7 separate regions of the Homo sapiens genome follow, and all the other regions are linked to region 7. The links are contacts of gene promoters, found by promoter capture Hi-C in blood cells and fetal thymus (Javierre and others, 2016). All regions are on one chromosome and are shown on one strand. Each heading gives the region's core, a stretch centred on a gene start or on the middle of the fragment in contact. The rest is flanking DNA. Distances are from core to core; before and after follow the strand shown.

Evidence for each region. The method cuts DNA at HindIII sites, captures the fragments that hold promoters and counts their contacts. A CHiCAGO score of 5 or more calls a contact.
Region 1: a contact is called between a fragment that was not itself captured here and the fragment with the promoter of OR9K2 in region 7, in 8 of 17 cell types (naive B cells, M0 macrophages, M2 macrophages and 5 more). The highest score is 11.6, in naive B cells.
Region 2: a contact is called between a fragment that was not itself captured here and the fragment with the promoter of OR9K2 in region 7, in 1 of 17 cell types (M2 macrophages). The highest score is 6.6, in M2 macrophages.
Region 3: a fragment that was not itself captured here is called in contact with the fragment with the promoter of OR9K2 in region 7 in 9 of 17 cell types (total CD4 T cells, activated CD4 T cells, M2 macrophages and 6 more); the score reaches 9.7 in total CD4 T cells.
Region 4: a contact is called between a fragment that was not itself captured here and the fragment with the promoter of OR9K2 in region 7, in 1 of 17 cell types (non-activated CD4 T cells). The highest score is 5.2, in non-activated CD4 T cells.
Region 5: a contact is called between a fragment that was not itself captured here and the fragment with the promoter of OR9K2 in region 7, in 12 of 17 cell types (naive CD8 T cells, total CD8 T cells, non-activated CD4 T cells and 9 more). The highest score is 13.7, in naive CD8 T cells.
Region 6: a contact is called between a fragment that was not itself captured here and the fragment with the promoter of OR9K2 in region 7, in 1 of 17 cell types (naive CD8 T cells). The highest score is 5.4, in naive CD8 T cells.

Annotation. Positions count from the first base shown.
Region 1 is chr12:55,625,526-55,628,549 of GRCh38, forward strand. No RefSeq gene overlaps it. Among named protein-coding and RNA genes, the nearest start is that of OR10P1, 9.9 kb to the right of the region's middle. The HindIII fragment of the contact is 3,558 bases long and covers 1-3,024 here.
Region 2 is chr12:55,577,514-55,580,423 of GRCh38, forward strand. It overlaps the pseudogene ATMINP2. Among named protein-coding and RNA genes, the nearest start is that of OR2AP1, 6.5 kb to the left of the region's middle. The HindIII fragment of the contact is 3,940 bases long and covers 1-2,910 here.
Region 3 is chr12:54,668,518-54,671,281 of GRCh38, forward strand. No RefSeq gene overlaps it. Among named protein-coding and RNA genes, the nearest start is that of DCD, 22 kb to the left of the region's middle. The HindIII fragment of the contact is 2,913 bases long and covers 1-2,764 here.
Region 4 is chr12:54,625,944-54,628,668 of GRCh38, forward strand. No RefSeq gene overlaps it. Among named protein-coding and RNA genes, the nearest start is that of LACRT, 7.6 kb to the right of the region's middle. The HindIII fragment of the contact is 2,779 bases long and covers 73-2,725 here.
Region 5 is chr12:54,691,005-54,694,027 of GRCh38, forward strand. No RefSeq gene overlaps it. Among named protein-coding and RNA genes, the nearest start is that of DCD, 44 kb to the left of the region's middle. The HindIII fragment of the contact is 9,388 bases long and covers 1-3,023 here.
Region 6 is chr12:54,644,585-54,647,546 of GRCh38, forward strand. DCD (dermcidin) reads right to left here. Exons shown (of 5, transcript NM_053283.4): 2 at 2,537-2,575; 3 at 1,022-1,123; 4 at 589-678; 5 at 5-172. The coding sequence ends at 129. Among named protein-coding and RNA genes, the nearest start is that of DCD, 2.3 kb to the right of the region's middle. The HindIII fragment of the contact is 661 bases long and covers 1,295-1,955 here.
Region 7 is chr12:55,125,132-55,127,968 of GRCh38, forward strand. OR9K2 (olfactory receptor family 9 subfamily K member 2) reads left to right here and starts at 1,275. Exons shown (of 3, transcript NM_001005243.2): 1 at 1,275-1,385; 2 at 1,697-1,780. The HindIII fragment of the contact is 7,142 bases long and covers 1-2,837 here.

The DNA.
Region 1 (3,024 bases), core at 403-2,902, 500 kb after region 7:
ATATCTAAATCAACAAAGCCCAGAGTCACAAGGACAGGAAGCAAATATTTTGCAAGTCGTTAGGTTTAGTGGCAAGGGGTGCCACTCCTACTTCAACCCCTTGGTAACCAATGTATTTTGTATTTGTATTTTGGCTATTTGGCTATTGTATTTCGGTTATAGGAGAATACCACATATTGGTCTGGGGTTCAGAGCCTATGTCTCACCTATAAGAGATCACTCAAACTTTTCAAGGTTTTTTCTCCCAACTGGTGCTGTATTTGAGTTTTTAATTGGCCATTCTATTGTTCAAAAAAGGCCAGGTGGTTCTGGGGAATGAAGTTACAGGGTAATCCCAATGAGTCCTGTGAGCATTGGCACATTGTCTCACTTGTTTTGCTATATATTTTTTCCTTGATTAGATGCAATATTATGTGAAATATCATGACAACAAATGCAGCATTCAGTAAGTCCGTGGATGGTGACACTTGCAGATGCAGGCAGACAGGAAAGATAAATCCATGCCCAGAGTAAGTGATTATCCCAGTGAGTGCAGAGCATTGCCTCCTTCAGGCAAGGGGTACAATGTAATCAAACTATCCCCAGGCATATTAGTTACCCATTGCTATGTAACAAATTACTACAAAACTTCCCTGCCTAAAACCACAGACAATTATCATCTCACAGTTTGAGTTGGTCAAGAATCCAGGAGAGAGCAATGAGCTGGGTGCCTCTCGCTCAGGGTCTCTCACGAGGATGGAGTCAAGCTGTCACCGAGGGTGCAGTCACTTAAGGGACAACTGAGGTTGGAAAATCCACTTCTAAACTCATTCATGTGCCTGTTGGCAGGCCTCAGATCTATTTCCAGGTTCACTCACATGGTTGCTGGCAGGCTTTGGCTCTTCCTCATGTGAGTCTCTCCACAGGCTGCCGAGTGTCCTCAATATGGCAACTTGTGAGAAGGGGGAAGAGAAAGACAGAGACAGAGGCAGAGGAGAACCAGACAGGACCCAAGATGAAAGCCAAGTCTTTTTGCAACATAATGTCAGATATCCCATCACTTTTGCCATGTTCCCTTCATTAAAAGCAGGTCACTGGTTCCAACCTACACTAAAAGGGAGAGAATTACACAAATGCATGAGTATCAGAAGATGAGTTTCATGGAGAACTATCTTAGAGGCTGCCTACTACACCAAGCTATTGTTACTGGCAAGTTACACACTCAGCCATGGCATAGCCAGACCAGCCTTGGTGAGGGGAACCATTGTCGGTAAGCCTGTGCCTAACCTTCATCCCTTCCGCCATGGACATTTTGATTGTGATCCCTTGAATAAGCACTGGAGATGCTGGAGAAGGCTGACTGACATCTACCAGCTGGGTCATCTTGATCCCTAAGTATTAACAGTATCTTCTGTAGTGAGAGACCTTTCGTGAGCATCCACATTGTCTCACCATTGTCCCACATATTCACAAATAGTCTCGCAGTCTGGACCCATTTTCAAAAGCTCATTCATAGAATAGTAAGATGGTTGAGAGCATGAACTCTGCAGCCAGATCACCTGGATTCAAATGCCAGCTCAGCCATTTACTAGCTGTATGGTCTTGTTCAAGTGCCTAACCACGCTATGCCTCAGATTCCTCTTCAGTAAAGTCAGCATAATAGTTGAAACTACCCCACAGTGTTTTGGGAGGATTCAGTAAGTTAATATATAAAAAGTGCTTAGAACAATATCTGACACAGAGTGAGCATTACAGAAGTGTTAGTGATGATGATGATGGTGATGATGATGATCCCCAGAATGCCTTGTCACTCATTCTCCTGTATTGTTCCTTCTACTTCCTAAACCTCCTGCCAAACAAACCATTAGCTGCTGCTCATGGATCAATGTAAATCCATATCTCAGGCCATCCTTCTTCCAGGAAAAGCAGACTCTTTAAGTTGTACTATCAAAATTCTGCTCAGCAGGCATTTTTCTTCTCCACTCTTCCTCAGGTCACCCCTTTTTTCCTCAGGGTCAACCCCCATTACTGGGGCTATAATGCCATAGATGTCCATATCTAGTTAGTCCCAGCAGAGTTGTGCAAAGTTCTCTGTAAAGCTGGGCCCAAATATTTTTCCTCCTCCATCAACCAGTCATGAGGAACACTACATGAGGCCATAGGAAGAAAGGACATTAGTGTGTCAAGAATAGACATGACGGGAGTGTGGACCATGAACTGGTGGAATGTCCTTGTGACTTCAGGACTTCTTCAAGTCTGATCTCATGTATGCCCCTTCACTTGAAGATGGGGTGCTTCTGGGCCTGACCATGCAGCTTTATCAATTGGGAAACACCCAGGTCATAAAGGGCAGCTCAGGTTGCAGAGTCACCTGGTATCCCAGGGTCAGGTGTTTATCCTCTGCCAGAGATCAAATAACAAGCAATGGCTCAGAGCAGTGGCTTGTGCTTGTAATCCCAGCACTTTGGGAGGCCAAGGCAGGAGGATCACTTGAGCTCAAGAATTTGAGACCAGCCTGGGGAACATAGTGAAACCTCATTGCTACTAAAAAAGTTTTAAAACTTAGCCAGGCGTGCTGGCGCACACCTGTAGTCCCAGCTACTCAGGGGGGCTGAGACAGAAGGATTGCTTGAGCCCAGGAGGTCGAGGCTGCAATGAGTCCTGATTGTGTCACTGCACTCCAGCCTGGATGACAAAGTGAGACCCTGTCTCAAAAATACATAAATAACAAACAAGGAGATATTTCTCAAAAGTATAATAGTTACTTGGTGAAGAGGGCGTGGACTTTCTCTGAATCCTTGGGGCCTCCACTACAACTCTTCTGTGAATGGGGCTTTTCACAGGCTCCAAACAGCACCAATTCAGCCATGGCACTTCTCACACCTTCAGATTCCCTTAGTCATAAAAGCCAGCAACAGAATTAGCTGTATTGCAGCCTGGACCAGCCAATATCCTTCTCTTACTCTGGGCCCCTGGCAAAGCTACAAGTTTTATGTGTTTAGCTGAAAATATAAAAGACCTAAGCCTGACAGTTTCTTTCTTTAA
Region 2 (2,910 bases), core at 361-2,860, 450 kb after region 7:
CCTGTTTATTTTCTCCCTTTCAGTAGGAACATAAAGATCCCAAAGAGCATGAGAACTAACAAAACAGTATTTTGCTTCCATCTTCCCCTGCCAATAATAAGATTTCAATGAGGATTAAGTAATGAACAAGGAGACTCATATAAGCTGCTAACTGGGCTCACCTCCTCCCTATTTATCTTCTTTCTGAGCTATAAGGAAATGGCCTTGGCTTCTAGACTTGAGGGTACAAATGGTGGTCTACTACATATAATAGTGTCCTGCCCATAATAGGTACTCAATAAATGTTCAATTAGTAAAATAACTAATGTACAAATGAAAAATTTCTTTATTACTTAAGGTTCAAGCAATTGTCATAGCTTTTTTTTATTATACTTTAAGTTTTAGGATACATGTGCACAACGTGCAGGTTTGTTACATATGTATACATGTGCCATGTTGGTGTCCTGCACCCATTAACTCATCATTTAACATTAGGTATATCTCCTAATGCTATCCCTTCCCCCTCCCCCCACCCCACAACAGGCCTCAGTGTGTGATGTTCCCCTTCATGTGTCCATGTGTTCTCATTGTTCAATTCCCACCTATGAGTGAGAACATGTGGTGTTTGGTTTTTTGTCCTTGCGATAGTTTACTGAGAATGATGGTTTCCAGCTTCAACCATGTCCCTACAAAGGACATGAACTCATCATTTTTTATGGCTGCACAGTATTCCATGATGTATATGTGCCACATTTTCTTAATCCAGTCTATCATTGTTGGACATTTGGGTTGGTTCCAAGTCTTTGCTATTGTGAATAGTGCCACAATAAACATACGTGTGCATGTGTCTTTATAGCAGCATGATTTATAATTTTTGGGTATATACCCAGTAATGGGATGGCTGGCTCAAATGGTATTTCTAGTTCTAGATCCCTGAGGAATCGCCACACTGACTCCCACAATGGTTGAACTACTTTACAGTCCCACCAACAGTGTAAAACTGTTCCTATTTCTCCACATCCTTTCCAGCACCTGTTGTTTCCTGACTTTTTAATGATTGCCATTCTAACTGGTGTGAAATGGTATCTCATTGTGGTTTTGATTTGCATTTCTTTGATGGCCTGTGATGACGAACATTTTTTCATGTGTCTTTTGGCAGCATAAATGTCTTCTTTTGAGAAGTGTGTGTTGATATCCTTCACCCACTTGTTGATGGGGTTGTTTGATTTTTTCTTGTAAATTTGTTTGAGTTATTTATAGATTCTGGATATTAGCCCTTTGTCAGATGAGTAGATTGCAAAAATTTTCTCCCATTTTGTAGGTTGCCTGTTCACTCTGATGGTAGTTTATTTTGCTGTGCAGAAGCTCTTTAATTAGATCCCATTTGTCAATTTTGGCTTTTGTTGCCATTGCTTTTGGTGTTTTAGACATGAAGTCCTTGCCCATGTCTATGTCCTGAATGGTAATGCCTAGGTTTTCTTCTAGGGTTTATATGGTTTGAGGTCTAATGTTTAAGTCTTTAATCCATCTTGAATTAATTTTTGTATAAGGTATAAGGAAGGGATCCAGTTTCAGCTTTCTACATATGGCTAGCCAGTTTTCCCAGCACCATTTATTTAATATGGAATCGTTTCCCCATTTCTTGTTTTTGCCAGGTTTGTCAAAGATCAGATAGTTGTAGATATGTGGCATTATTTCTGAGGGCTCTGTTCTGTTCCATTGATCTATATCTCTGTTTTGGTACCAGTACCATGCTCTTTTGGTTACTGTAGCCTTTTAGTATAGTTTGAAGTCAGGTAGCGTGATGCCTCCAGCTTTATTCTTTTGGCTTAGAGATGTAGATTTGGTCTTATTTATTGTTTTCTGGTTGTTTTGTATATCCCTTGTTCCTTACTTCCTATCTTATTGTCTATTTTTGTGGTTGGGTAGTTTCTGTAGTAATAAGATTTGATTCCTTTGTTTCTCCTTTCTCTATTGGCTCTACCAGTGAGTTTATAGTTTTGCATATTTTCACCATGGTGGTTATCATCTTTTCTCTTCCAGATGTATGACTCCCTTGAACATTTCTTGTAAGTCCAGTATGGTGACTATTAATTCCCTTCATTTTTGCTTGTTTGTCACATATTTTATTTCTCCTTCATTTCTGAAGGATGGCTTTGCTGGGCATAATATTGTTGGCTAGCAGGGTTTTTTTTTCTTTCAGTACTTTGAATACATCATTCCATTCTCTCCTGGCCTGTAAGGCTTCTGCTGAGAAATCTACTGTTAGTGAAATGGGGATTCCCTTATACATGACTTAATGTTTTTCCCTGGTGTTTTTAGAAATTTTTTCTTTGTCTTTGGCTTCTGACAATTTGACTAAAATGTGTCTTGGATAGGACATGTTTGGGTTGAATCTATTTGGGTTTCTTTGAGATTCCCGTATTTGGATGTCCAGCCCTCTCTCAAGAATTGGAAAATTTTGACCTATTATTTTATTAAATATGCTTTCTATACCATTTCCCTTATTTTCTTCTCCTAAAATGCCCAGAATATGAATATTTGTTTGCTTAATGGTGTCCTGTAAATCCTATAGGCTTTGTTCACTTCTCTCTTTTGTTTTTCAGTCTGCCTGTGTTATTTCAAAAGACCTGTTTTCAACTTCAGAAATTATTTATTCTGCTTGGTCTAGTCTCTTAAAAGTTGAAAATCTTTATGGTCAAGGACCTCTTGCCACATTACTAAATTCAATGGTGGATGTGTAATAGGTATCTCAAACTCAAGCATTCTAAGTGCCTAATCTACACCACCTCTCCATCTCACCTGACAATCTCTCCTTTCCTCCAGCCCCTGGCAAATTTTGTTTACCCACAGCCCTTCCCAGCTCAATCCCATGGTTTTAGTCTTGAACCATCCCACTAGTTTTGGTTTCTCTGAAGATCTCACCTGATT
Region 3 (2,764 bases), core at 78-2,577, 460 kb before region 7:
CCAGCAAAGATTCAGAAGGAAAGAAAGAACAAGAAAAGAATAAATAAATGGCAGGGTTAGAAGGTGAACTGCAGTCATAGATTTCTTTTATAATAGACACACCAGAAATAAAGTGACACACAAATGTTGAATATAAAGAGATGGAGAGAGAAATGTTAGGTAAATGGAATAGCAACATTATCTGGCAAAATAGAACGCAAGGCCAAAATAATTAAAGAGAACATGAAGTGCTGTTTTAAATCGCATAGGTTTAAAAAAGGTAAAATTCACTGAGAAGATGTAATAGTTACAAACTTTTATGCATCACACTTGCATTGAAACAAAGCAAAAACTGTGATGACTATGAGGACTACCTGACAGAGCCACACTCTCTGTAGGAGACATCGATCTGTTAAGTCTCGGAAGGTGACAGTTTATGTGGACAGAATATAATTTTGTATACAGAACATTTGAATAACACAATTGACAAACTTGCTTGAATGTTATAGCCAATGAAAAGAATAAACATTTTTTCAATACCTGTGTGGTTTTACAAAATCGATTAAATACTAGGTATCAAAGAATACCTCAATCCATTCTCCAAAGAAGAAATTGTAAAGGCCACTTTTTCTTACCACCATATAATACAAGTTAGAAATTAAAAATGAAAGGCAAATCATAATAATTAAAAAAAGAGTCCCTGGGGAAAAACAACAATCTTTCTTAGGTTAAAAGGAAAACAGTTGTGGGGTGGGGGGAGGGGAAAGGGATAGCATTAGGAGATATACCTAATGCTAAATGACGAGTTAATGGGTGCAGCACACCAGCATGGCACATGTATACATACGTAACTAACCTGCACATTGTGCACATGTACCCTGAAACTTAAAGTATAATAATAATAATAAAAAAAAGAAAACAGAGCCTTAAGTGATGATTGTTTTGGAAATGGATATGTGAACGCTGCGCACCTTTACTTTGCAGCCAACTGTTCTTAGAGGATCCCTGGTGTTTAGTATTTTATGAGAAATGAACATGTAGCAAAAGTAAATTCAAGTTTAGAAACTAGAAAATGTCTAATCAAACAATGTGAAAAATAGAAGAGGGCATTAATAGATGTAAAAGCAGAAATTAACTAAATTAAATTATGCAATCCCAATAGGAAAACATGGTTCTCCCTGAGTCTCTTCTGAAGTGCAGTCCACTCATTCCCACAGCCATGCTTCTTAGGTTGGGCAGTGGAATTCACAGACATGTGGATCATCCTAGACTCCACTGCAGAGTCCATTGAGTCATATCACTAATACCTCCTCCTCGGAGGAGTCTTGGGTCATCTGTCTACCCCTCCTCATTGTTTCACCTGCTGGGCTCCCAGCGACTCCTTTCCTTCATGGAAGACTTACTCCTGAGTGGTGGTCTTCTTTTTTGTTTTAAGCTGCTGGACAACTTCATGGATCATGACCATGACTTACCCAGAAGTCTGGGTTCTAGGGAACCATGGAAGTTCGGGTGAAAGTAGAAATTGACCTTATCATAACTTTCACCCCAACTCCCATGGTCAATCTGTGGCCGTGGTCATTTCTTAGAGTTACTCCAATTCTGAAAACACCCACATCCTCACCACATATCACCTATCCTTCCAACTCTTTCATTCTGATACTTCTTCTATATTTATTTTTCAAACTTCAGTTCCCTGACCATTTTATTTTCTCTTTTTCTGTATGCCTACTCCAGTCTTCACGTTCTTTCCTTTCCAGGTTAAATTACATGGTCTTCCACTTAGAGAAGTTTTTTGCCAATCTGTGTCACTTCCTGACCTCATTTTTACAAAGTTTGGCAAATTCTGAGTCTTGATAAATCTAGCTCTCTACTCTCTCTGTCCTATTCCAGGGCTATTGAGCACTTGTAGGAAAAAAAGGATATAAAACCATAAAGATTATACATTATAAACTTCTGGTTTGTAACCTCAACTAGGATCCCACTACATCCTTCACACACACCTAGTGACTTCATCAGCTTCACAGAGAAAATACAAGTGTTTTGGTACAAATTCCCTTTATTTCCTACCAATATATTTGTAACCTTACATGTACTTGTGTCCACCTTTTCTTTCTTTTTTACAGTAACTATGTGAGAGTTTTTCTTTCTCTTGCCTAAAACTTAACCCTTCATCTAAGATCTGACTCCTGTCTCCTCCTGCCTTCTCAGGAATATTGCTCTGTTGATTATCGCTACTCTTCCTTGCACTTTAATTTCTCCTGGACCTTTAAAAAATATCAGTTAAACAAGGCTTTTGAGGTCTTTCATGATCTGGCCTCTTCCTACCATCTCTTCCACATTTCACCTCTTAGTTTATGTCCTAGCTATGCATTTTTCTTTGAGTTCCTTGAGCACACGTTGTTTGCACTTATCTCTGGGATTTTGCACCTGCTGATCCTTCTTTCTGAAACATTATCTTCCCTTTCTCCTCCAATACTCATATTTGAGTAATTTTTCATTTTATATCACTTTCTCTGGGAATCTTCTATCCTGAAAGTTTTGATTAGGCTTAGTTCTAATAGCTTCATTGCACCCTCTAATAGACTATTGTAGAACTTATTATTCTAAGATGTACTAAGAAATTTATTTTTCTGACCTTTCTCACTCTTGTTTCCTCCAACAAGACCAAGATTGTCTTGTTCAGTGTTGATTTCCTAGCATCTGGAACATGTCCGGCATAAGAAGCATTAAATATGTTTTTTTGTTGGATTGATTAAAATCTTTGTCTGAATCTTTGGTCCTAAAG
Region 4 (2,725 bases), core at 212-2,711, 500 kb before region 7:
TTGGTAGGGATTTCATCAGGATTGGGGTTTTCTCTGAAACAGTATCTGGGGTTAGCTCTTGCTCCTTCATCAAGCTTTGTCATAATCACTGTGTGTCCAAAGTCACCAATTTGTGAATGTGAAATGGTTGAAGTTGTCTCTCCTTTGAGGAGGATGAACCTGGGGAATTTTGGGGGTGCTGTAGGCAGGTAATCCTAGAGCTTGCTTCTCCTTCGTTCAGTACACAGACAACTGGTTAACCACCTGTTTCCTGCCGAGTGTTAGGCATTCTGAGATGAATTCCGCCTGGACCTGCTTCTGAAGTGTTGCCTCTCTGGTGAAGAGGTATTATAGCAGACATGCAAATGCATATTCTAAGAACAGAGAGGATGGAGACATTCATCTCACAGGATATAAATGAGGAGGTGGGTGGAAGTGGGTGAATTCATTCAACATTGAACCAATGTTTCTTGGGTGCTTTCTGTGTTCCAGGCACTATTCTAGGCACTGGGGATATAGAAGTAAAAGAGCAGACAGAAATCCCTGCTGATATGGCTTCGCTGTGTCCCCATCTAAATTTCATCTTGAATTCCCATGTGTTGTGGGAGGGACCTGGTGGGAGGTAATTGAATCATGGGGGCAGGCCTTTCCTGTGCTGCTCTGGTGATAGTGAATAAGTCTCATGAGATCTGATGGTTTTATAAAGGGGATTTTCCCTGCACAAGCTCTCTTCTCTTGTCTGCTGCCATGTGAGATGTGCCTTTCACCTTCCACCATGATTGTGAGGCCTCCACAGCCACGTGGAACTCTAAGTCCAATAAACCTCTTTCTTTCGTAAATTGCCCAGTCTCCACTATGTCTTTATCAGCAGCATGAAAACTGACTAATACACTAAACTGGTACTGTATTAGCACTGATTAATACAGTAGAGTGGGATGTTGCTGAAAAGATACCTGAAAATGTGAAAGCAACTTTGGAACTGGGTAGCAGGCAGAGGCTGGAACAGTTTGGAGGGCTCAGAAGAAGACAGGGAAATGTGGGAAATTCTGGAACTTCCTAGAGACTTGTTGAATGGCTTTGCCCAAAATGCTGATAGCAACATGGACAATAAAGTCCAGGCTGAGGTGGTCTCTGATGGAAATGAGGAACTTGTTTTGGGAACTGGAGCAAAGGTGACTCTTGTTATGTGTTAGCAAAGAGACTGGCAGCATTTTGCTTCTGCCCTAGAGATTTGTGGAACTTTGAACTTGAGAGAGATGATTTAGGGTTTTTGGTGGAAGAGGTTTCTAGGCAGCAAAGCATTCAAGATGTGACTTGGGTGCTGTTAAAGGCATTCCGTTTTATAAGGGAAGCAGAGCATAAATGTTCAGAAAATTTGCAGCCTGACAATGTGATAGAAGATAAAATCCCATTTTCTGAAGAGAAATTCAAGCCGGCTGCAGAAATTTGCACAAGTAATGAGGAGCCGAATGTTAATCCACAAGATGATGGGGAAAATGTCTCTAGGACATGTCAGAGGTTTTCACAGCAGCCCCTCCCATCACAGGCCTGGAGGCCTAGGAGGAAAAAGTGGTTATATGGGCCAGGCCCAGGGTACCTGTGCTCTGTGCAGCCTAGAGACTTGGTGTCTTGTGTTTGAGCTACTCTAGCCATGGCTGAAAGGGGCCAACATAGAGCTTGGGCTGTGGCTCCAGAGGGTGCAAGCCCCAAGCCTTGGCAGCTTTTATGTGGTGCTGAGCCTGTGAGTGCGCAGAATTCAAGAATTGGGGTTTGGGAACCTCCACCTAGATTTCAGAGGATGTATGAAAACACCTAGATGTCCAGGCAGAAGTTTGCTGCAGGGGTGGAGAACTCATGGAGCACCTCAGTTCTTTGGAAAGTTTGGAACTTCTTAGAGATTTGTTAAGTGATTGTGACCAGAATGCTAGTTGAAATATGAACAGTAAGGCCATTCTGATGAGATTTCAGATGGAACTGAGGAATAAGGTATTGGAAACTGGAGTAAAGACCATCCTTGTTATAAATTGACAGAGAACTTGACTGAACTGTGTCTACATTTAAGGGCTTTGTGGAAGGCCAAACTTGAGAGTGACGAACTAGAGTATCTGCAGAAGAAATTTCTAAGCAAAATATAGAAGGAGGTGCATGGTTACTTTTGGCCACTTATGCTGAGATTTGGGAGCAAAGGAATAATTCAAAGACAATTATAAAGATAAAGAAAATTTACATTAAACTGGAAGCAGAGTGGAAAGAGTTGGAAAACTGTCAGCCTGGCCACATGAAGAGTGAAAAAGCACATTCAGAAGAGGAGATCAAGGGTGCAGCTAAAAAGATTAGCACAGATAGAAGGGAGCCGGATGCTATTTCTCAAGACGATGAAGAAAGACCTGAAATGCATTTCAGAGATCTTTGAGGGTGCCCCTCCTGTTATAGGCCCAGAGGTCTAGAAGGGCAGAATGGTGCCTTGGGACTCTGCCCTGAAACCCCAGTGCAGAGCTTCATGGCTGCCCTAGCCAAGGCTCAAGTGACCCCAATTGTAGCTTGTGCTGCAGTTTTGGAAGGTAGAAGCCATAAACCTTGGCAGTGTCCAGGTGGTGCTGACTCTGCAGGCTTGCAGACAGCAAAAGCTGTGGCAGCTTGGCAGCCTCCACCAAGATTTCAAAGGATATCATCAAAAGCCTAGGAGCCCAGGCAAAGATTTGTCACAGGGGCAGAGCCACTGCAAAGAGTCCCCATCTAGCAGAGC
Region 5 (3,023 bases), core at 446-2,945, 430 kb before region 7:
TATCTCATATATTTAATAAAAAAGGAAATAATCAGAATTAATATGGTAAAAAAGAGAAACTGTATTTTCATTTACAGATGATTAGCTGATTAAATGATACATTTCTAGAAAATCTCAGGTAGTCTGCTAACAAAAACCTATAAAAGAACTTGGGAATATGTTTGGATGTAAGACAAATGCAAGAAAAGCCAGTAGCTTTTTTCTAACCCAGAAAAAACCCCAGTTAGAATTAGAAATGTAAAAATATATTCCTTCTTCAATGTTGAGGAAATGAGTGGGAACTGCTAGTACATTTGGAAAGAAGAACAATGAGAGCACTGGCACTCCAGATATTAAAACTCATTCTTAAACTACTATAATTCATTCATTGGTTCATTGACTTTTTGAGCACCTACAATGGGGAAGGCACTTTTCTAGGCATTGAGGCATCTTTGGGGCACTGGAGAGATAGCAAAGAGAATATAAAAAACAAAGTCCTTGTCCTATGGAAGTTGTAGTGTGGCTTTGACACAAGAATAGAACAGAGTTTAAGTCAGAATAGAAGTTATAGTATGGCTTTGACAGAAGAATAGAGAGAGACATACTCAGTAAGACTGAGTGGAGAATCTACATGACTTAAGTCTAATTGGAATTCAGTGGCTGATTTGTCACTTAATAAAAGATGTAAGAATAATCAGCTTTCAACTAGAAGAAAACAGTTCCTTACTTTACCTAATGTATAAAACATATTCCAGATGGCCTAAACAATTTTTAACCCCTCCATCTCTAAACTTAGATGAACATTCAGGAGAATATGTAAATCCATGTAAATCAAAAAGATCTTTTTAAGCAAGGGAGAAGAGAAACTGAAAAAGAAAATAAACATTTATGAGAACCTACAAATTTAAATGTTGTCCATGTCAAAAGATACTATAAATGTTAAAAGATAAAATAGAGTAGGATATATATTTTTAGCTATACATATGATATTCAGAGGGCTACTATTTTTCTTATGGAGGGAATGTCTATAAAATGACAAGAAGAGAAAAATAACAATCACCAAACTAGCCATAATTATAAAGAGGAAATCTATTGAAAGAAAATACATATTGCCAATAAAAATATGGAAATCTTTCTGATCATTAGGGAAGTGAAAATTAAAACACCAATTAAGGAATTTTTTTCAGCTATCATATGAGGAAAAATTGGAAAATTGATAAGATTGAGCAGTACCAAGTATATGGGGAAATTCATGGGCTGTCAGTGAGAACATGGCTTGCCACAATCTTTCTGGAAAATAATCTGACAATATCTATTAAAATAAAAATATATAAATCATTTGTCCTAACGTTCCCAATTATGGGACTGTATACTATAGAGTATACAGAAGCACACATACATAGGGATGTATGGACAAAGATGTTTATCACAGACTTGTAGCAGCAAAAACCAAACAGATAAATACATACATACATTCAGCTAAAAAAATGAGAACCAAAACTAAAACCACATAGAAAAAAATACATGTGTGTCTGTCTATAAGGGGTTACTTGCGTAGATTGTGGTACAATCTCAATACTGTCCAGCTGTTAAGAGAGTGAATTGGATCTGTATAGTGGAACCGGAAGAATGTTTCTACCAAATCATTAAGTTAAAAAAATGAGTTGTAAGAGCACACAGTGAGATTCCTTATGTGAAACAAAACAAAACAGCACAGATATTGTTTATAGGATCTTAGAGAGAGGTGTGGAAGACTATATACAAAACTATTCACATATTACCTCAGGAACTGGGATTGGAGAATGTGGGACAGGAAGGGGTCATGACCTTTCTCTATCTCTGTGCTATTTAGTGTAAGAAAAGAGCTTTGTAAGGACAGGGATTTGTATCTTGTTCATTGCTGCCTCTTTGGTATCTAAAACATAACAGGCAGCTTGGATCCATTCAGTAAGATTTATTGGCCAGACATGGTGGCTCACACCTGCAAGCCCAGAACTCTGGGAGGCCAAGGCAGGCGGCTCACTTGAGGTCAAGAGTTGACCAGCCTGGCCAACATGGTGAAACCATGTCTCTACTAAAAAATACAAAAATTAGATGGTTTTGGTGGTGCACGCCTGTAATACCAGCTACAAGGGAGGCTGAGGCAGGAGAATCACTTGGACCCAGGCGACAGAGGTTGCAGTGAGCCGAAACTGTGCCATTGCACTCCAGCCTGGGCGACAGAGCAAGACTCTGTCTCAAAGAAGAAAAAAAAAGTATGGAATAAATAATCATTTGTTATTTCTTTAATTTAAAAAAAAAATGGGATAAGACAATGGAGAATTTAGAGTAGAGTAACCAAGAAGAGATGTGGAGAGGGCTACTGCAGAAATGAAAGCTCTCTTCCTAGAGTAACCTGGGAACTTTTAAGTCAGGAGTCAAAAAGTATATGGAGGAGGAGCTAGCCACAGGGTGAATGTAAAGGGGATTAAGCAAGCAACTCTCCCAGGAAAAACGAGGGTCCTCTTCTCCACTTGTTTTCAGGAGTGGCTGGTTTCAGTGTTTGCTTCCAGGTGAATGTGAAGGGCTCAGCTGGTATGAGAGGTCAGAAAGAGACAGGGCAGGATCTGATGTAATTCTGGGTTTTCAAAGTAGTCTCAGAAAAAACAAAAAACAACGGGCTGTTACAGAGAACCATACTAAAGCCAGTCATTTATAGCAAATTCATTCCCAGATTGCCTGCTAGCTCCCCATTCACACACCACAAGGGAATTGGTTGGCAACCTCCTCATCCCATTTATCATGAGCCTGCAGTTGGCCAGCTCCAGGGAGAGACAGTCCCCCTATACAAATGCTGAAGGAGCCAATGCCTGGTGTTGATGATATTCAACTTAGTACTTCATTTAAAGCAAAGAATTAGCAAATATTTGAGGAAAATTAGCATCATGAAAAAGAAGTGTGAAGAAGATTAAACAGGATGACTAGCTAAGGAAGAAACAGAGAAAGATACCCTAGAAGAAAACCTAGGCAATACCATTCAGGACATAGAATTGGTCAAAGACTTC
Region 6 (2,962 bases), core at 375-2,874, 480 kb before region 7:
CAAGTATTACAGATGCTTTCAGTTTAATAGCTGTTTTAAATTTTTTTTTTTTTTTTTTTTTTTAGGTTTTAGGCTGAAGACGTAAAGCCTGCTGCTCCTGGGTATCATTTCTCAGCTTCTCCTTACAGCTATAGTACTGAGTCAAGGACGTCTTTAACGTCATGGACGGCTCCTAGGACAGCCACAGAAAAAAATGGGGTAAAGGGGTAGGAAGAAAAAAGGAAGGGAAAGAGAGCCAGGGAATTGGGGAAGGAGAGGTAGGGGAAGGGGAAGGGGAAGGGAGGCCTGGAGGTGCTTACACAGAAGTCAGAGGGATGGAGGTTAGATTCACAGGAGCCCCAAAGACCAACCTCTCTTCCCCACCTTGGCAGGGGCAGGGGGCAAGAGCAATAAAAAAAAAAGCAAGTTAGACCCCAGGAAGTATCAATATCAGACAAGAATGGCAATTTAAATCTGGATGAGGAATTGGAGACATTTGAAAGCACAAAGTGAGGGGTCTTCAATGGGGGGGCTGTGGCAGTTTCAGATCTCATGCAAGGGGTGGAGACTGAGGCTGGTCCTGAGGGAGGAGTGGGGACATATACTCACCTTTACCCACGCTTTCTAGATCTTCGACTGCATCTTTTCCTAGTTTTCCGAGTCCCCCCACAGCTTTTTTTGCTCCGTCTAGGCCTTTTTCTAGGGTGGATTCAGAAAAGAAGAGGTCATAGAAGCAGAAAAACTACTTCCTTTGTAGGAGAGCTCCCCCGCTTCCTAGGCACCATGGGCACCCCTAAGGTGAAGTGGTTTTGCTGAAGGAACCAACTTCTCTGTCATGGGAAGGTTGGTAGGCCAGTATTAGCTGCAAAACCTATGGCCCAGAAACCCTGTATGTAGAAGCAGGTGTGCACCCCAAGCCCTCCCTAGGAATATGGGTGTAGCTGTGTCCCTGTGCTTGTGCCTGTGAGGGCAGACTGGCCCCCAGATATCTTGCTGTTTCATGCATCAGAATTCTATACCAGGCATTGGGAAAGAGGCTTACCCAGAAGGCTGGATCTCTGCTTCCTTGGCTTTGGTGCCTGTCTGGCTAACCCTGGGTCTTCACCTGCATTTTCCTTTTGAGCTGCTGATGCTTCATGGCAAGCTGCAAGGGTAAGGGAGTGAGAGGAATAATAGCTATTTCACTCTTTCCACCCTGGTCGGGGAGCAGGTGGTGCTTTTACCCCCTCAAGGTCTGGCTTGAGGATAGCTCCCTCTCTCCCAATTCCTCTAGAGCTTGACTTTCATGATGTGTTAGGTTCTTTAGCATCCCTCAAGCTTTTTCCTGCTGCCTCCAAGACTTTTCCTGCTCCTCCAGGGCCCTTTTCTAGAGTAGATTATGGTTCAGGGAAAAGTAAAGTCATTTTGGCAGAAAGATCACCTTAAAGAGACTCCCCCTAGTTTTCATCCCTTATACCAGCCCCCTAGTGTGGGGAGGTTTTGCAGAGGGCACTAGCTTCTCTCTTCTAGGCAGGTTGGTGGATGAGGACAGAAATTTGGCAGTCTCTGAAGGGGGCTTCTGTAGCTGTAAACAATCCATTTGTTTATCTGGAAAATCAAAACTTCTGTTATTGCATTGGTGTGAAACGCTCCAGGGGCATCTGAGAAGACACCAAGGTGCCCGGTGTTCCCTCTGGGCTTTATGTGAGAAGGCAGGGAGGGTGCAGGTGTGTGCTGTGGTTGGGGCTCGCAGTGCAGTGAAGATGTGCAGAAATACAGTTTATCTTTCTGCCGTTAATTATCCAGAGTGTGTACATGGCTGGGGAAGTAGAAATGAATGAGAATTAGATCTCTCTCTCAGGGGCTTACAGTCTAGGAAAAGAGACAAAACTGCTATATATGGGAAGCCCAGAAGAGGGAGGGATGAAAGGAGAGACTGGGACAGAGGCACCATACACACCAGGCAGGGAGGGCTTCAGAGAGCAGCTGGGACTTGAAGCTTGTTAGAGCACGGACAGGTAGGGGTTGAAAAGGTACCCAGGAAGAGGAACGTTGGGTAGTAGAAAGTTACTCATGCTGTCTGATGAAACAAATGTATAACGTTTGATGTGGAGAATGCAAGCAGTGGAGTCTAGGGAAATTATATTTGAAAAGTACCCTGGATCTAGATCATGGATACCCTGAATGTCAGGCTAGGAGGTGAGAGTTTCGTGATGAGAAATGGGAAACCACGTGAAAGGTTTTTGAATTGAAATTGTTGGTGAAGGTGGGGCAGATGAAAACCTCTGAACCCATCTAATGTGAAGTTCCTCCTCTTGCTCAAGAAAAGTATTCTTTTCTTTCCCATTTTTCTTACTCCACTTCTACTTCCAGACAGGGCCACCCTTTCCCCCATGCTCTGTCCTTCTCCAGTGCATGAGTCTCTCAGGAAGTCTCCCTTCTCCATGTCTCCTAAAAGTCGGCCTCCCAACTCTCCTTCCCCGGACCCCCCTTCTGCTTCTCTGACTTCCTCCACTCATATCCCAAGTCATTAACCCTCCCACCCAGGACTGGGGCAGGAGGAAGAGAAAGGACTCACGGTTCCCCGATCCTGGGGCAGAGGCGGCCTCTGGATCATCTGCAAAGGAGGGAACAGTGACCATGTCAAGTAGGGCACAGTTGCATGAGCTGTATCCAGCCAGGGCTGCCTAGAATTCCCAGGCCTCTAATCTCAGGAGTGTGGCAGTGGACAGACAGGAGAGAAATCTCTGCTTCACAAGGGGCCCACTAGAAATGCTTTTTGGTATCTCAACCAAATCCCTCTCTCTGTTATCCTCCCTAGACCTAGGCTACTCAGAACATCCCTATGGAAATGGAATCATTCTCTGACTCTCTTCTATGTCTTAGATGTCCAAGTTTCATAATGAAAGTTGAAGGGGCATGACCACGAGGGCATGACCACAGCACCTGCTCTAGTGACAGGGCAGGAGTTGTTCTGATTGTCACCTGATAGAATGACCTCAGA
Region 7 (2,837 bases), core at 25-2,524:
ATGTTGGTGTGCTACACCCATTAACTCATCATTTACATTAGGTATATCTCCTAATGCTATCTGTCCCCCCCCGCCACCTCAGGACAGGCCCCGGTGTCTGATGTTCCCCACCCTGTGTCCAAGTGTTGTAGTTGTTCAATTCCCACCTATGAGTGAGAACGTGCGGTGTTTGGTTTTCTGTCCTTGCCATAGTTTGCTGAGACTGATGGTTTCCAGCTTCATCCGTGTCCCAACAAAGGACATGAACTCATCCTTTTTTATGACTGCATAGTATCCCATGGTGTATATGTGCCACATTTTCTTAATCCAGTCTATCATTGTTGGACATTTGGGTTGGTTCCAAGTCAGCGAGACCACAAACCCACCGGGAGGAACGAACAACTCCAGACATGCCACCTTTAAGAGATTTTAAGAGCTGTAACTCACTTTTGAAGTCAGTGAGACCACAAACCCACCAGAAGGAAGAAACTCTGGACACATCTAAATATCTGAAGGAACAAACTCCGGACACACCACCTTTAAGAACTTTAACACTCACCGGAAGGAACCAACAGTTCTTTAAATTATTTTGAACTATATACAGGGACTGATGAGAAGTTACTAACTTAATACATGACACCTGAATAAACAACTTTAAAGCAATTAAAATTACAATATAAACCCAACTTTAGATCCAGTTAATCATGTGGCCTTTACTTGATGGATTAGAGGGCGTTTGTTGGATTTTTGCCCATATCATGGTCGTGCTGTTCTATCTTTCTTCTCAATTACTATTGAGAAAATATAGTTTAAAAAGTCATCAAGGAGAGATTTGGGTGAATAGAATTCTGAAAGTAAATATGAAATTAACTTTATGATTAGGACTCAAAATTTTCCTACAAATGGCATTATGAACCACAACATTTCCTTTCGTATCTATTTCTACTTGCTTATCAAAAACTGTGCTATAATGATAAATTGAAAATGCTGCTTTTTCAGTGAAGAAATTAAAATTAAAAGATCCTTGTGATTTTTCCTAAAGAATGTCTCATATGTACTTTAAGTACTCTTAGGCTTTTTAAAAAAATATAGAATCTCTGAGGTCTTCATGGATCTTGCTTTTAGATCCTAGAAGTCTTACTAATTAATTGACTTGTGTTCTTCTCTCCCAGAGGTACTGTCTCCCAGAACATAGAGGAAATCTCAATACTGTAATTATATGAAAAAGCTGTAGCAAAACCGAAGCCCTCGTGGATAACTGCTGTTGATATTTTGGCAGTATTCAGAGATGCCAAAGAGCTCAGGACCTCTACTTGCATATCCATGGCAATCTATCCTCTTGCCTTGAAAGCATACAAGTTTCTGAGAATTCAGGATAGATAATATCTTGTGGATTGATTCCTCAGGTTCACTTTGCTTATCTATAGATTTTTGTTCCTGGAATCACTTCAGTTTTGGCAGAACATGATTTGAAAAATTCACCTTGACTCTCTTCTAAAAAGGACTATAAAACTTTTCAGGAAATCAACTACTGAAAAAAAGACTTTTTAAAATAGAGCAATGAGGCACATAAGCCACATTTATCTATGGGAAGAATCTAAAACTGTAATAATAAATGTGGATTTGTGGGGAATGATTCATTTTATTTCAAAGTAATTATTTTTCAGTATTTATAATTATGACAGTCATTAATTAACTTTATGTTTATCCTTTCTAGAATTAAAACAATAAACAGAGGAAAACATTGGAACTCTGCTGATTGATTTTTACCAGAATCTGACCAGTTACTAAACAATACAAGGTAAAAGTAACTTAAAACCTGTAAGTTTTTGAAAAATAAGTCACAAACTGACTACTTGTTGTTGGCTTCTGCGGGAATAACTCCCTTTTCCAGGTAAAAAATGTCATCAGCAATGCATTTATTAACATTTATAATGTTACAATGTTTATAACATTTATGATATAAATTTATTTTAATAAGTTTGTTTTTTTATATTCTCTGATTCCACATACTCATTATCATTCAGCTTTTTTCTACGTAATAATATGTATTGAATTATTGTCATTCACTAGATTCAGAACATTATGTTGACAATACGCAGCAAACAAGCTGAGTTTGATGTTAAGGATATTATTGTCAAGTGAGGAATAATTACTATTAATAATAATATTAAATTCTAATGTTGAAATGAGTTTGATAGAAATAAATCTTAGAAATTAAAATAATCTGTTTTGCTTCTAGATGAGAATAAAATGAAGATAAATTATATATATTATTTTTCAAAAAATGATTTTTCATGCTGACTTCAGTCAGCTTTCTTTCACTTCTTAAATGTCTCACATCTTTCCAGACCCTAAGTGCAATCTAATGTAAGCTCTTACTACTTCTTAATTACTTACATATTTAATTTTTGATAAAATGGGTGAATATTTTATTTTCAACATTTAATACAGTCTTAAATAATGATAACATCTTATTCAGCTTTTCTCTTAATAATCTTTTTTCTCAGGCAAAATATTCCATTTCTCCAAGAGTTCTTCATCTCTCTAAACTTTTAACAGATTGATTCTTCCCCTCAACTGAGAATGTTTTGTCCAAAAACGACCATATATATTATTGGTTTTCAACCTAATAAGCACTATTTGGTATGAATAGTGGGACTGAGCACTGAAACGTATAATAAAAATAATGGCTAACATTTACTGAATACTTAGTTTACCATAAATGGTGCTAAGTGATTTACATACGTATGTCATTTTCTATTCCCAAGAAAACTTTGAGGACTCTTATTTCCACTTTATATATGAGAATACAGTAGCATAGAGAGAGAGCATAAGTAACTTGTCCAAGATCCCAT